Regions from separate parts of the Homo sapiens genome. Here region 1 is linked to region 2. The links are contacts of gene promoters, found by promoter capture Hi-C in human tissues and cell types (Jung and others, 2019). All regions are on one chromosome and are shown on one strand. Each heading gives the region's core, a stretch centred on a gene start or on the middle of the fragment in contact. The rest is flanking DNA. Distances are from core to core; before and after follow the strand shown.

Region 1 (5,891 bases), core at 3,203-5,702, 83 kb before region 2:
AATTTGCCAAGCATGGTGGCATGTGTCTGTTGTCTCAGCTACTTAGGAGGGTGAGGCAGGAGGATCACTTGAGCCCAGGGGATCGAGGTTGCCATGGGCCATGATTGAGCCACTGCACCCCAACCTGGGTGACAAAGCAAGATCTGTCTCAAAAAGAAAAAAACTCACAGGGTTTTATGTGAGGATGAAATGAGGTAAATGAATGATGGTCCCTGACCACAGGCCCCAGAATGCTCGGCTCAGCACGGCCGCTCCCTTGGCATTGCTCAACTCTCCCCTGACTCCTCTCAGCCCAGGCTATTGCCCTCCCTTGCAGGGCCAGCTCAAGTTTATAACGACAATCGCTGCCCCTTGCAGACGTGATCTCAAAGCCATAAAGGCTTTTACAGTTTCACTCTCCCCCCTAGATAAGCCTGGGGAGCCCTTCCCAAGGCCGGGGAGCAATCTCAGAGCCACAGGGGGAGGGGCTGGGCGTTGCACAAGTTGGGAAATGGAACAAGTTTTATGGCCCCAACTTCGCTAAAAATATCACGTTCTCAGATCCTTGGCTGGAATCTGCTAGTGAAACCTCAGCACCTGCAGTGATATTCACTCATTCATTCTTCCACTCATTTGATACAAAGGGAAGAGTGTGCAGGACACACCAGCATGGATATTCTCACTTCACCACTATTATGCTGTGTGTGGACCCAGGGCAAACCACTTTCCTCTCATCCGTATAGCAGGGCTAGTCCATTTCACCTCCCCAACAATCTCAGTAAGGTGAGTGGGTAAGACCAGTATGTCAGCACACTTAGCACCTAGTAGGTCTGCAACAAATTTGCTTGAATCCCTTTCGTTCACCAACTATATTCATCTTTTTTGTTTTTATTTTTTACAACAGGGTCTCACTCTGTTTCCCAGGCTGGAGTGCAGTGACACAATTACGGTCACGGTCACTGCAGCCTCGAACTCCTGGATTCAAGCAATCTTCCTGCCTCAGCCTCCCAAGTAGCTGGGGCTACAGGCACACACCACCACGCCTGGTTAAGTTTTTTTATATTTGCAGAGATCGGGGGGTCTCACTAAGTTGCCCTGGTGGGTCTTGAACTCCTAGGGACCTGAGGATTGCTCCAAGCAATCCTCCCACCTCAGCCTTCCAAAGTGCTGGGATTACGGGCGTGAGCCACCATGCCCGGCCTCTATTCACCTCACTTGTTCTTTGCAGCTTTCCCTTTCCCTCTCTCCAACCTCCATGGTGGTGCAACCTAGAGTGAAGTCCTCACCTATTTTCTGTTTCCTCTCTTCACTCTTCAATGAGCCCAAGCAACTATTGGCTTTTCATTTCTTTCATTTGTTAAATTAAGGTATAATTTTCTTTCTTTTTTTTTTTGAGATGGAGTCTCACTCCTGTTGCACAGGCTGAAGTGTAGTGGTGCCATCTCGGCTTACTGCAACCTCTCCACCTCCCGGGTTCAAGCGATTCTCCTTCCTCAGCTTCCCGAATAGCTGGGATTACAGGTGTGCGCCACCATGCCCAGCTAATTTTTGTATTTTTAGTAGAGATGGGCTTTTGCCATATTGGCTAGGCTGGTCTCAAACTCCTGACCTCAGGTGATCCGCCTGCCTTGGCCTCCCAAAGTGCTAGGATTACAGGCGTGTGCCACCGCACCTGGCCAAATTAAGGTATAATTTCCATAGACTAAGATTTGCCCTTTTTAGTGTATGCTTTTGCACGTTTTGGCACATGTATGCAGTCATGTCACCACCATCACAATCAAGATTTTCTCAGAGCATTCCCATCACTCCAAACCCCCTCCCCTGTGTCCCTTGGTATTCAAACCCCTACCCCAGCCCTTGCCCCTGGCAGCCACATACCTGTGTCTATGGTTTTGCCTTCTCCAGAACATCACAGAGATGGAATCATATAGTATGTAGTCTTCTGAGCCTGGCTTCTTTCACCTAGTGTTATGAGTTTGAGTTCCATGGTTTTCTTTTTTTTCTTTTTTGAGACTAAGTCTCCCTCTGTCGCCTAGCCTGGAGTGCGGTGGCTCGATCTTAGCTCACTGCAACCTCCGCCTCCAGGGTTCAAGCAATTCTTCTGCTTCAGCCTCCTGAGTAGCTGGGATTACAGGCATGTGCCACCACACCCAGCTTATTTTTGTGTTTTTAATAGAGATGGGGTTTCACCATGTTGGCCAGGCTGGTCTTGACCTCTTGACCTCAAATGATCCACCCCCTCCTCCGCCTCCCGAAGTGCTAGGAATAGAGCCACCACGACTGGGCCCATGTTGTTTGTATCAGTAGTTCTCTTCTTTTTATTGCTGAGCAATCTTCCTATTGACTTTTTTTTCTTCAATAGAGACAGGGTCTTGCTCTATCATCTAGGCTAAAGTGCAGTGGTTTGATCATGGCTCACTGCAACCTCAAACTTTTGGGCTTAAACAATTCTCCTGCCTCAGCCTCCAGAGGAGCTGGGACTACAGGCATGTGCCAGCACACCTACCTTTTTTTTTTTTTTTAATTTTTTGTAGAGACGGGGGTTTTGCTGTGTTGCCGATGCTGGTCTCGAACTCCTGGCCTCAAGGGATTCTCCCTTTTTCGCCTCCCAAAGCTCTGGGATTACAGGAGTGAGCACCATGCTCAGCCCAGTTGATTATTAAACTTCTCATCTATGCTTATGACTTAGACTCTTTATCTCTAGCCCCAACTTTTCCCCAAGCTCTAGACTCATATATCCAACAAGTCCCTGGATGTTTAATTGGGATCTCAAACAGCACATCCAAAACCAAGCTCTTATTTTCTAACCCAAATTTGCAGCTCCTCCAGTCTTCCTCTGTCAACAGACAGCACCACCTGGCCACAGTTACTTTCCTTCACATACCTTAGTAAGTTCTTGGCTGTTCTACTTCCAGAACACTCCACTCTGACCGCCTCTCACCACCACCACCTGTATTCATTTTCTATTGCTGCATAACAAATTGCCACAAATGCAGATGCTTAAAACACTGCCCATTTGTCAGCTGGGCACAGTGGCTCACGCCTGTAATCCCAGCACTTTGGGAGTCCGAGGTGGGCAGATTACCTGAGGTCAAGAGTTCGAGACCAGCCTGGCCAACACGGTGAAACCCCATCTCCATTAAAAATACAAAATTAGCTGGGCGTGGTGGTGCATGCCTGTAATCCCAGCTACTTGGGAGGCTGAGGCAGGAGAATCACTTGAACCTGGGAGGTGGAGGTTGCAGTGAACCAAGATCACATCATTGCACTCCAGCCTGGGCAAAAAGAGCGAAACTCTGTTTCCAAAGAAAAGAAAAGAAAACGCTGCCCATTTGTGATCTCACAGGTCTATAGTCCAGCAGTCCAGATGTGGTGTGATTGGGTCTCCTGCTCGGGTTCTTAAACGACTGGGCTGTGTACCTACCTGAGGGCTCTAGGAAAGGATCCAAGCTCATTCATGTTGTTGCCTGCATTCAGTTCCTCATGGTCGTTGGACTGTCACCCTGTCACCATTTTCTTGCTGGTTGTCAGCCAGGGGTCTCTCAGTTTCTAGAGGCCACTTGCATCCCTTGCCAAGTGGCCCCCTTGTCTTCAAAGCCAGCAACAGAGACTCTCCCTTATGTGGAATCACATTTCTAATTTCTCACGTTTCTAATTCTCATGTTTCTAATTTCATAGAAAGAGTTCAGCTCCCTTTATGGCCTCACCTGATTAGGCCAGGCCCACCAAAGAATATCTCTCTATCAAAAAGTCAGCTGGTTTGGGACTTAAATTACATCTGCAAAATCTCTTCACAGGAACACCTAGATTCATGTCTAATTGGATAACTGAAAGAAGGTGTGTATGCACCAAAGGCAGGCGTCTTGGGGGGCATTTAAAAAATTCTGCCCACTCCACAACCCTAGTCCATGCTGCCATCATCTTTCACCTGGACCACTGCCCAGGCCACCTGTGGGCGTCTCTGCTTCCACTGTTTTTCCACATAGTCCATTATCTATACAGCAGAGAGTGGCCTTTTAAGAACATCAAGCAGATCATATCACTTCTCTATTCAAAAATGAAGAGCTTCCTACTATACCAACAAGAAAATCCAGAATCTTTCTCGTGGCCTAGAAGGCTACCTCTGGTCTCACCCCTGCCTACCTCTCAGACTCAGAAAAATGTTCAACAGATAGACACTCACTAAATATTTGTTGAATGAACGAATGAATGAATGAATGAATGAAAGTCTCTTGGATTGGTGCTTTTCTCTACTCCACTGCCACCATCTTGTTGTAGACATCACTACCTCTCACCTGATCCAGTGCACTTGTGTCTTCATTGGTCTCCCAGCTTACAGTTGCACCTCTTCGTCTGCCACAAAGCAGCCAGGGTGTTGTTTTAAAGATACAGATCTGGCCAGGTGCAGTGGCTCACACCTGTAATTCCAACACTTTGTGAGGCCGAGGCGGGTGGACTGCTTGAGCTCAGGAGTTCAAGACAAGCCTGGACAGCATGGCAAGACCCCGTCTCTACTAAAAATACAAAAAAATAGTTGTTGGTGCCTGTGGTCCCAGCTATTCAGGAAGCTGAGGTAGGAGGATCACTTGAGCCCAGGGGGCAGAGGTTGCAGTGGGCTGTGATTGCGCCACTGCACTCCAGCCTGGGTGACAGAGGGAGACCCTGTCTCAAAAAAAAAAAAATATATATATATACACACACACATATATGTATAAATATATATATATACATATGTATAAGTATATAAACATACATACACACATATGTATATAAGTATGTTTACATACGCACATATGTATATATGTATGTAAACATACATACATATATAATATATATAATACATAAACATATATAAATATATAATATATAAACATATATAATATATAAATATATAATATATAAACATATATAATATATAAATATATAATATATAAACATATATAATATATAAATATATAATATATAAACATAATATATAAATATATAATATATAAACATATAATATATAAATATATAATATATAAACATATAATATATAAATATATAATATATAAACATATAATATATAAATATATAATATATAAACATATAATATATAAATATATAATATATAAACATATAATATATAAATATATAATATATAAACATATAATATATAAACATATATAATATATAAACATATAATATATAAACATATATAATATATAAACATATAATATATAAACATATATAATATATCAAATATATAATATACAAATATATAATATATAAATATATATAAATATATAATATATAAATATATAAAATATACATAAAATATATAATATATAAATATATAAAAATATATATAAAATATATAATATATAGATATATAAAAATATATATAAAATATATAATATAAAATATATATAATATAAAAATATATAATATAAAATATATAAATATATAATATATAATATATATAAATATATGTATCTTTATATACATATATACAGATCTGCCTACAACCTTCACTGCTCTCAAACCTCCAGTGGGCCGGGCGTGGCGGCTCATGCCTGTAATCCTAGCATATTGGGAGGCCAAGGCGGGTGGATCACTTGAGGTCAGGGGTTGGAAACCAGCCTGGCCAACATGGCGAAACCCCATCTCTACTAAAAATACAAAAATTATCTGGGTGTGGTTGCATGCTCCTGTAATCTCAGCTACTTGGGAGGCTGAGGCAGGAGACTTGCTAGAACCTGGGAGATAGAGATTGCAGCGAGCCAAGATCGCGCCATTGCACTCCAGCCTGGGTGACAGAGCGAGAACCCCTCTCAAAAAACAAACAGAAACCTCTAGTGGCTTCCTTTTCCCCGGAAGAAATTCCATACTCCTCTGTCCAGTATTTGAGGTCCCCACCACTTGTGTGCGGG
Region 2 (5,249 bases), core at 2,484-4,983:
AGGTTTCTGGGGAAGTTTTGCTTTTGGATAAAAGAAACAAGGGCACTGAGGAAAACCTCTTCTCCTCCTGCCTCCAGCTTCAGACACGTAAGTGCAGACATGACAGCTGAAGCTGGGACAGCCAGTTTGGGTTATAATGGGGCAAATACAAGGACCAAAGACAACGCAGTGAGGAGGGCAGAGAGGAAGGAAGGCAAGAGAGTGGGATCTGGCTGACATTGATGATCATCATTGTAGCGCTGTTTTAAGCCCATCATTTCACTCATCCAACAAATGCTTATTGAGCATTTCTTCTGTGCCAGTCACCATGTGAGACATAGTGAGACAAACAAGGCTGAACAAACTACCCAGGTCCCAGAACTCACGGAGTTTATAGTCTGGTGGGGCAGCCAGACACCACAATTCACACCAGCAACTATCTGATCAGAGCGATGACGAGAACCGCAAAGCCAAAACCAGTGTGCCGTGGAAGCACCGGAAGTCCAGGGAGGGCCAAGTCCACCCAGCATCACCACACCAAAGAGCAGCTCTTTAGAATCCTGCTAAAGCTCAAAAACATGAAACCACAACGAGGATTTCTTGCGTGCTTGCTCTGGACCCAGGACTGTTCTAAGCACTCATGGATCCTTCCATTTGATCCTCACAACAGCCATGTCTTCCTCTGCCTCTAACTGAGGCTCTGCTATGTGCCATGTCCCTGACCCACCAATGCACCTCTACTATAGTCATCTTAGGAGATGATTAATGTTATCCCCATTAGAGAACCCCAGAAGAAGATTTTTTGTTTGTTTTTTGTTTTTTTGTTTTGTTTTGTTTTTTTTGAGATAGAGTCTTGTTCTGCTGCCCAAGCTGGAGTGGCAGTGGCATGATCTCAGCTTAATGCAACCTCTACCTCCCAGGTTCAAGTGAGTCTCATGCCTCAGCCTCCCAAGTAGCTGGAATTACAGGCGTGTGCCATCATACCCGGCTAGTTTTTGTATTTTTAGTAGAGACGGGGTTTTGCCATGTTGGCCAGGCTGGTCTCGAACTCCTAATCTCAAGTTATCTGCCCGCCTCAGCCTCCCAAAGTGCTGGGATTACAGGCGTGAGCCACTGCACCCAGCCTGGGAGAGGGGTTTTGTTTCCTCGGAGCACTTGTTTCTTTTCTCAGAAAGCAAATTTTTCTTTTCTTTTTTTTTTTTTTCTGGAGCCTTCCAGCAGACTTCAGTAGCTCATTTTACAGATAAAACATGTGAAGCTCAGAGAGGGGTAATGATTTGACTCACAAGACCACACAGTTTTTTGTTTTGTTTTTTTTTTTTAAATAAGGTAGATCTAGGATGCTAACCCAGGTGTATTTTATCAAAAATATCAAATCAGGGTCTTTCAGCCACTCTCACACACATACACATAGGCACACATACACTGCAGTGAATGTTCCACTGCCCCAGGACAAAAGTGCTCATTTTTTGTGGATGTACTGCAAGGTCACTGGAGTTCTCCTTTCTCTGTCCAGCCATATCTGTGGCCTAGAGCAGAGGGCCAGCAACAGCTGGATTGTGTCAAGTCTCGAGTCAGATGACATTTTTTGTTTGTTTGTGTTTTTTTTTTAATCTTGAACCTTAGTTTTTTCTTCTGTCCTTGGAGATTACAATATTATTTATCTCAGACAGCCGTTTGGAAAATGAAACAGCTGTCTGAGAGATAATAGTAGAACATTCACTAACCCATTCATCCATCCATTCACCCACCTACCTGTCGATAGAAGCAACCATTCTAATAATTGCTGAATGTTTGCTATATAATGAGTATGACACAGGAGCAGAGATGAAGAGACATGAGGACATCCTACAAGGTGCAGAGACGTGGGAGACAGTGAAAGGCTGTCAGGTTATATTATTGTATCATCCTTTAAGAGACACTGTGGGGCCTTCTGTTCACCCCTAGCTTAGCCTTATGACCTGGGCTGTCCTTCCCCAGAAGCTGTCTGGCCCCTTTGAGAGACAATGTCTTCCCCTAGCCACAGGTTCAACCAAGTCATCCATTGGCATCTATACTCCAGGTCTTAAAATTGTGGATTAAGGGTGGCCTCACCCTTAATCTCCTCTATGCTATCTCCTCTAATCTCCCCGCTCTCTGGGAGATAGGTCCTGTTGTTATCTTCATTTTACAGATGAGGAAATAGGTTCAGAGAGGGGAAATGTCTTGCCCAAGGTCACACAGCTGGTGTGTGGGATGGGTTCCCAGGCTGTTGGTTTCTTCAGCCTCTGCCATTTCCAGTGCATCACATATTCCTGTTTGATGGGGGTCAAAGCAAAGAAGATTCTTCCTGACTAGAGTCAGGAGATCAGGCCCTGATTCTGTCATTCCCTGGCCCTCTGTCCTCAGCAATTGATGACATAAATGTTGATTGTGTCTTTGCAATGCACGTGGTATCAAGGGCTTTACATCCTTGTTCCCCACGGCATCCACCATGATCTTAAGACACATCCTAGTCCTGTCTCCACTTCAGAAAGAAAGCAAGAGGCACGTGAATGTTGAGCCGTGTGACAGAGTCACAACTAGACCCCGAGGTCTGCTGGATTCCAGAGACCAAGTTCTGTGCGGGTGTGTGATTTGAACAGGTTTATAAAAGGCACCCAACTTTTAAAAAATCCAAAATGTGTCCCCAAAAGATAAAACATTCTCTTGAATTTCCCTCCTCAGAAACAAACCTGTCACCAATTTTATTGTGTCATTCCACGAATTTTCTATGCGTGGAATGTACACGTATACGCGTGTGTACATATATACATCTATATCCGTTTCGCTATCAGCAACTACACAGTTCTTCAGTGTACCGTTTTCACTTAATTTAACTGAGAGGTTCTTCCCTGTCACACACAGATGTGCGTTGTTTCCTTGAACAATGGGATAGCATTCCACTGTAAAGACGTCTCACGCTTTATTTACCCGTCTTCCCTCTGCTGAGGGACATTGGGTTGCTTCCAATGTGGGGGTCACCCTAAGGAGTGAGCCTGAGCCTTTCACTCTCAGTAACACATGCTTTCTAGCCCTGCATCTGAGTTTCACACGTCCGCACAAGATATTCTCATTTTCCAACGCTCCACCCTGCGCGGCGCTTTCTACCTCCTCCCCATTATCCAGAGCCAACGGAGGTGCGGAGCGACCGAGCTGCCCGGTCCCACGCCCAGCTTGATAATGCACCAGCAACGTGACCTAGGCCCAGCAAGCCTCTCCTGGTGGACCTCAATTTGCCCCGCATCGAAACAGGACGGTGCTTCCAAGCCCCACCCTCTGTGGGGTTTTGGAAAGACCCCTGAGATGCATTCCCAGGAAGGCCTCTGGACAGACAAAATGAGCCAAGCCTCTGCCCCAGGGCTTCTCGGCCCCTCCCAGCACTTCTCGCACCAAGCAGGCCATGCCCCGGCTTGAGAGCTTAGGGAAGCGGTCACATTGCCTCCGTGGGGCTTCCTGCCCTTCCAGAGGAGCTCCAGGAGGAGCTTTGGGCCCGTAAGAAACACACGGGGAGGTGTCCCATGGCCTCCCAAAGCTGACCGCAGTCCCGCCCTGTCCAGTCTTCCCCCAGCCCCACTTACCGTAAGAACTCTCCACTGGAGCCCCGAGGGGCGCGTTCACGCTGACCATGGCCAAGCCCACCCAGCCGGAGAGCTGGGGGCATGGAGGAGCAGGGGCCCGCTCACAGCAGCAGCACAGCCACCAGGAGCCCGTCCACCAGGAAGGCGGTGAGTGCGGCCAGCTGCCACCGCCCGGTTATCTTATTGATTCTTCTAATCACCCAAGGTGGGTGGATACGTTAAAGAGTAACCAGTCACTTAGGGAACCCGCGGCTGGGGACTGTTGCTGTCTCCATGGCAATGGCGACCTGGCCAGACCTGAGGTCCACTCGGGTCCTAGTCCTGCACTCTGGGGTTAGGGGAACCCAGAGCCAGGTGTATGGGGACATCAGCCCCCCAATTTGAGGACAGGGCCGGAGCAGAAGGGGCTGGAGAGGTGAGAGTCCAACCTGGGTTGGGTTTTATGGCTCCAAACTATGGGTGTGTCACCATGCAGGAAGTAGTGGGAAAACCGAGGGAGGGGCAGAGGAAAAAAGGAGGGTGGAGAACTGTGTTTAGTGAGTGCCTACTGGATGCTGGGAGTTGCATACAGGCGTTACCATATTTAAATTAAACCTTGAGATGAAGGGACTGAAGGACAGAGAGAAATTGCATGCCTGGAGTCTCACTGCTAGTACATAGAGGTGTTATCTTCCTTTCATCTAACATATTTATTGAGCACCTACTATGTACCAGGCCTTGTGCTAGACTCTGGGGATATGGAAATGAGCAAAGTAGATGTACCCCCGAAACTTGTGGACTAATGGAGGAGACGGACCTTAATCAGATCGTCATTCAAAGATACTATTACAAACTGGTGAGTGATATGAGGGGTGGAGAAACATGGGGCTGCCTCCAGGCCAATGGGACAAAGTCATCCTGTCTGGCGTCTCCTCTGGTCTCCTTCCCCATTCTAAATTCAACCTGCTGCTGAAACTCACACACTCTGTTTTAGCTCCCTGGCATGTTAGACACCTGCCACCTAGCTTTTTTTTTGGAACAGCCCCGTTTCTTTTGTCTCAGTTTTGGATCTCACCACCTGCTTGGGGATTCTGAAATCAAGGTCATTCATCCTGTTAGAGAGAGCTGAAATGAGAACAGTGAAACAAATTCTGGACTCAGAAAAATCAGAAAACTCCAGCTCTATTATTTTCTTGCTGTATGTTTTTTAGTAAATTATTTCATTTCCTTATAGGAATACCTAGCTCATAGTTTGCCCTGCTTCTAAAATAGCTAATTGATAATATTCCTCTTCTCTTCCCATAGTCTCTTTTTTCAGCTTTATCAATCACCTCAGAGGGACCTTCAGCCCCTACAGATGGGCATGGGTTGCATTAAAATGTCCTTTCTTTTCTAAAACAACAGTGATAACAAACGTTAGATTTTGGGGCCGGGTGCAGTGGCTCACGCCTGTAACCCCAGCATTTTGGGAGGCCGAGGCGCACCGATCACGAGGTCAGGAGTTTGAGGCCAGCCTGACCAACATGGTGAAACCCCGTCTCTACCAAAAATAAAAAAATTAGCCGGGCATGGTGGCAAACGGGAGGCTGAGGCAAGAGAATCGTTTGAACCAGGGGGACAGAGGTTGCAGTGAGCCAAGATCGTGCCACTGCACTCCAGCCTGGGCAACAGAGAGAGACTCCATCTCAAAAT

What was found. The method cuts DNA at HindIII sites, captures the fragments that hold promoters and counts their contacts. A contact is called where the count stands out against the background at its distance.
Region 1: a contact is called between a fragment that was not itself captured here and the fragment with the promoter of HNF4A in region 2, in 3 of the 25 tissues and cell types used here (heart right ventricle, hippocampus and pancreas).

What each region holds. Positions count from the first base shown.
Region 1 is chr20:44,437,318-44,443,208 of GRCh38, reverse strand. No RefSeq gene overlaps it. Among named protein-coding and RNA genes, the nearest start is that of LINC01430, 10 kb to the left of the region's middle. The HindIII fragment of the contact is 6,695 bases long and covers 1,105-5,891 here.
Region 2 is chr20:44,354,183-44,359,431 of GRCh38, reverse strand. HNF4A (hepatocyte nuclear factor 4 alpha) reads right to left here and starts at 3,733. Exons shown (of 10, transcript NM_175914.5): 1 at 3,579-3,733. The coding sequence starts at 3,627. R3HDML-AS1 (R3HDML antisense RNA 1) reads left to right here and starts at 4,190. Exons shown (of 4, transcript NR_184036.1): 1 at 4,190-4,413. It overlaps HNF4A-AS1 (HNF4A antisense RNA 1), which reads left to right. Exons shown (of 3, transcript NR_172878.1): 3 at 1-2,688. The HindIII fragment of the contact is 37,265 bases long and covers 1-5,249 here.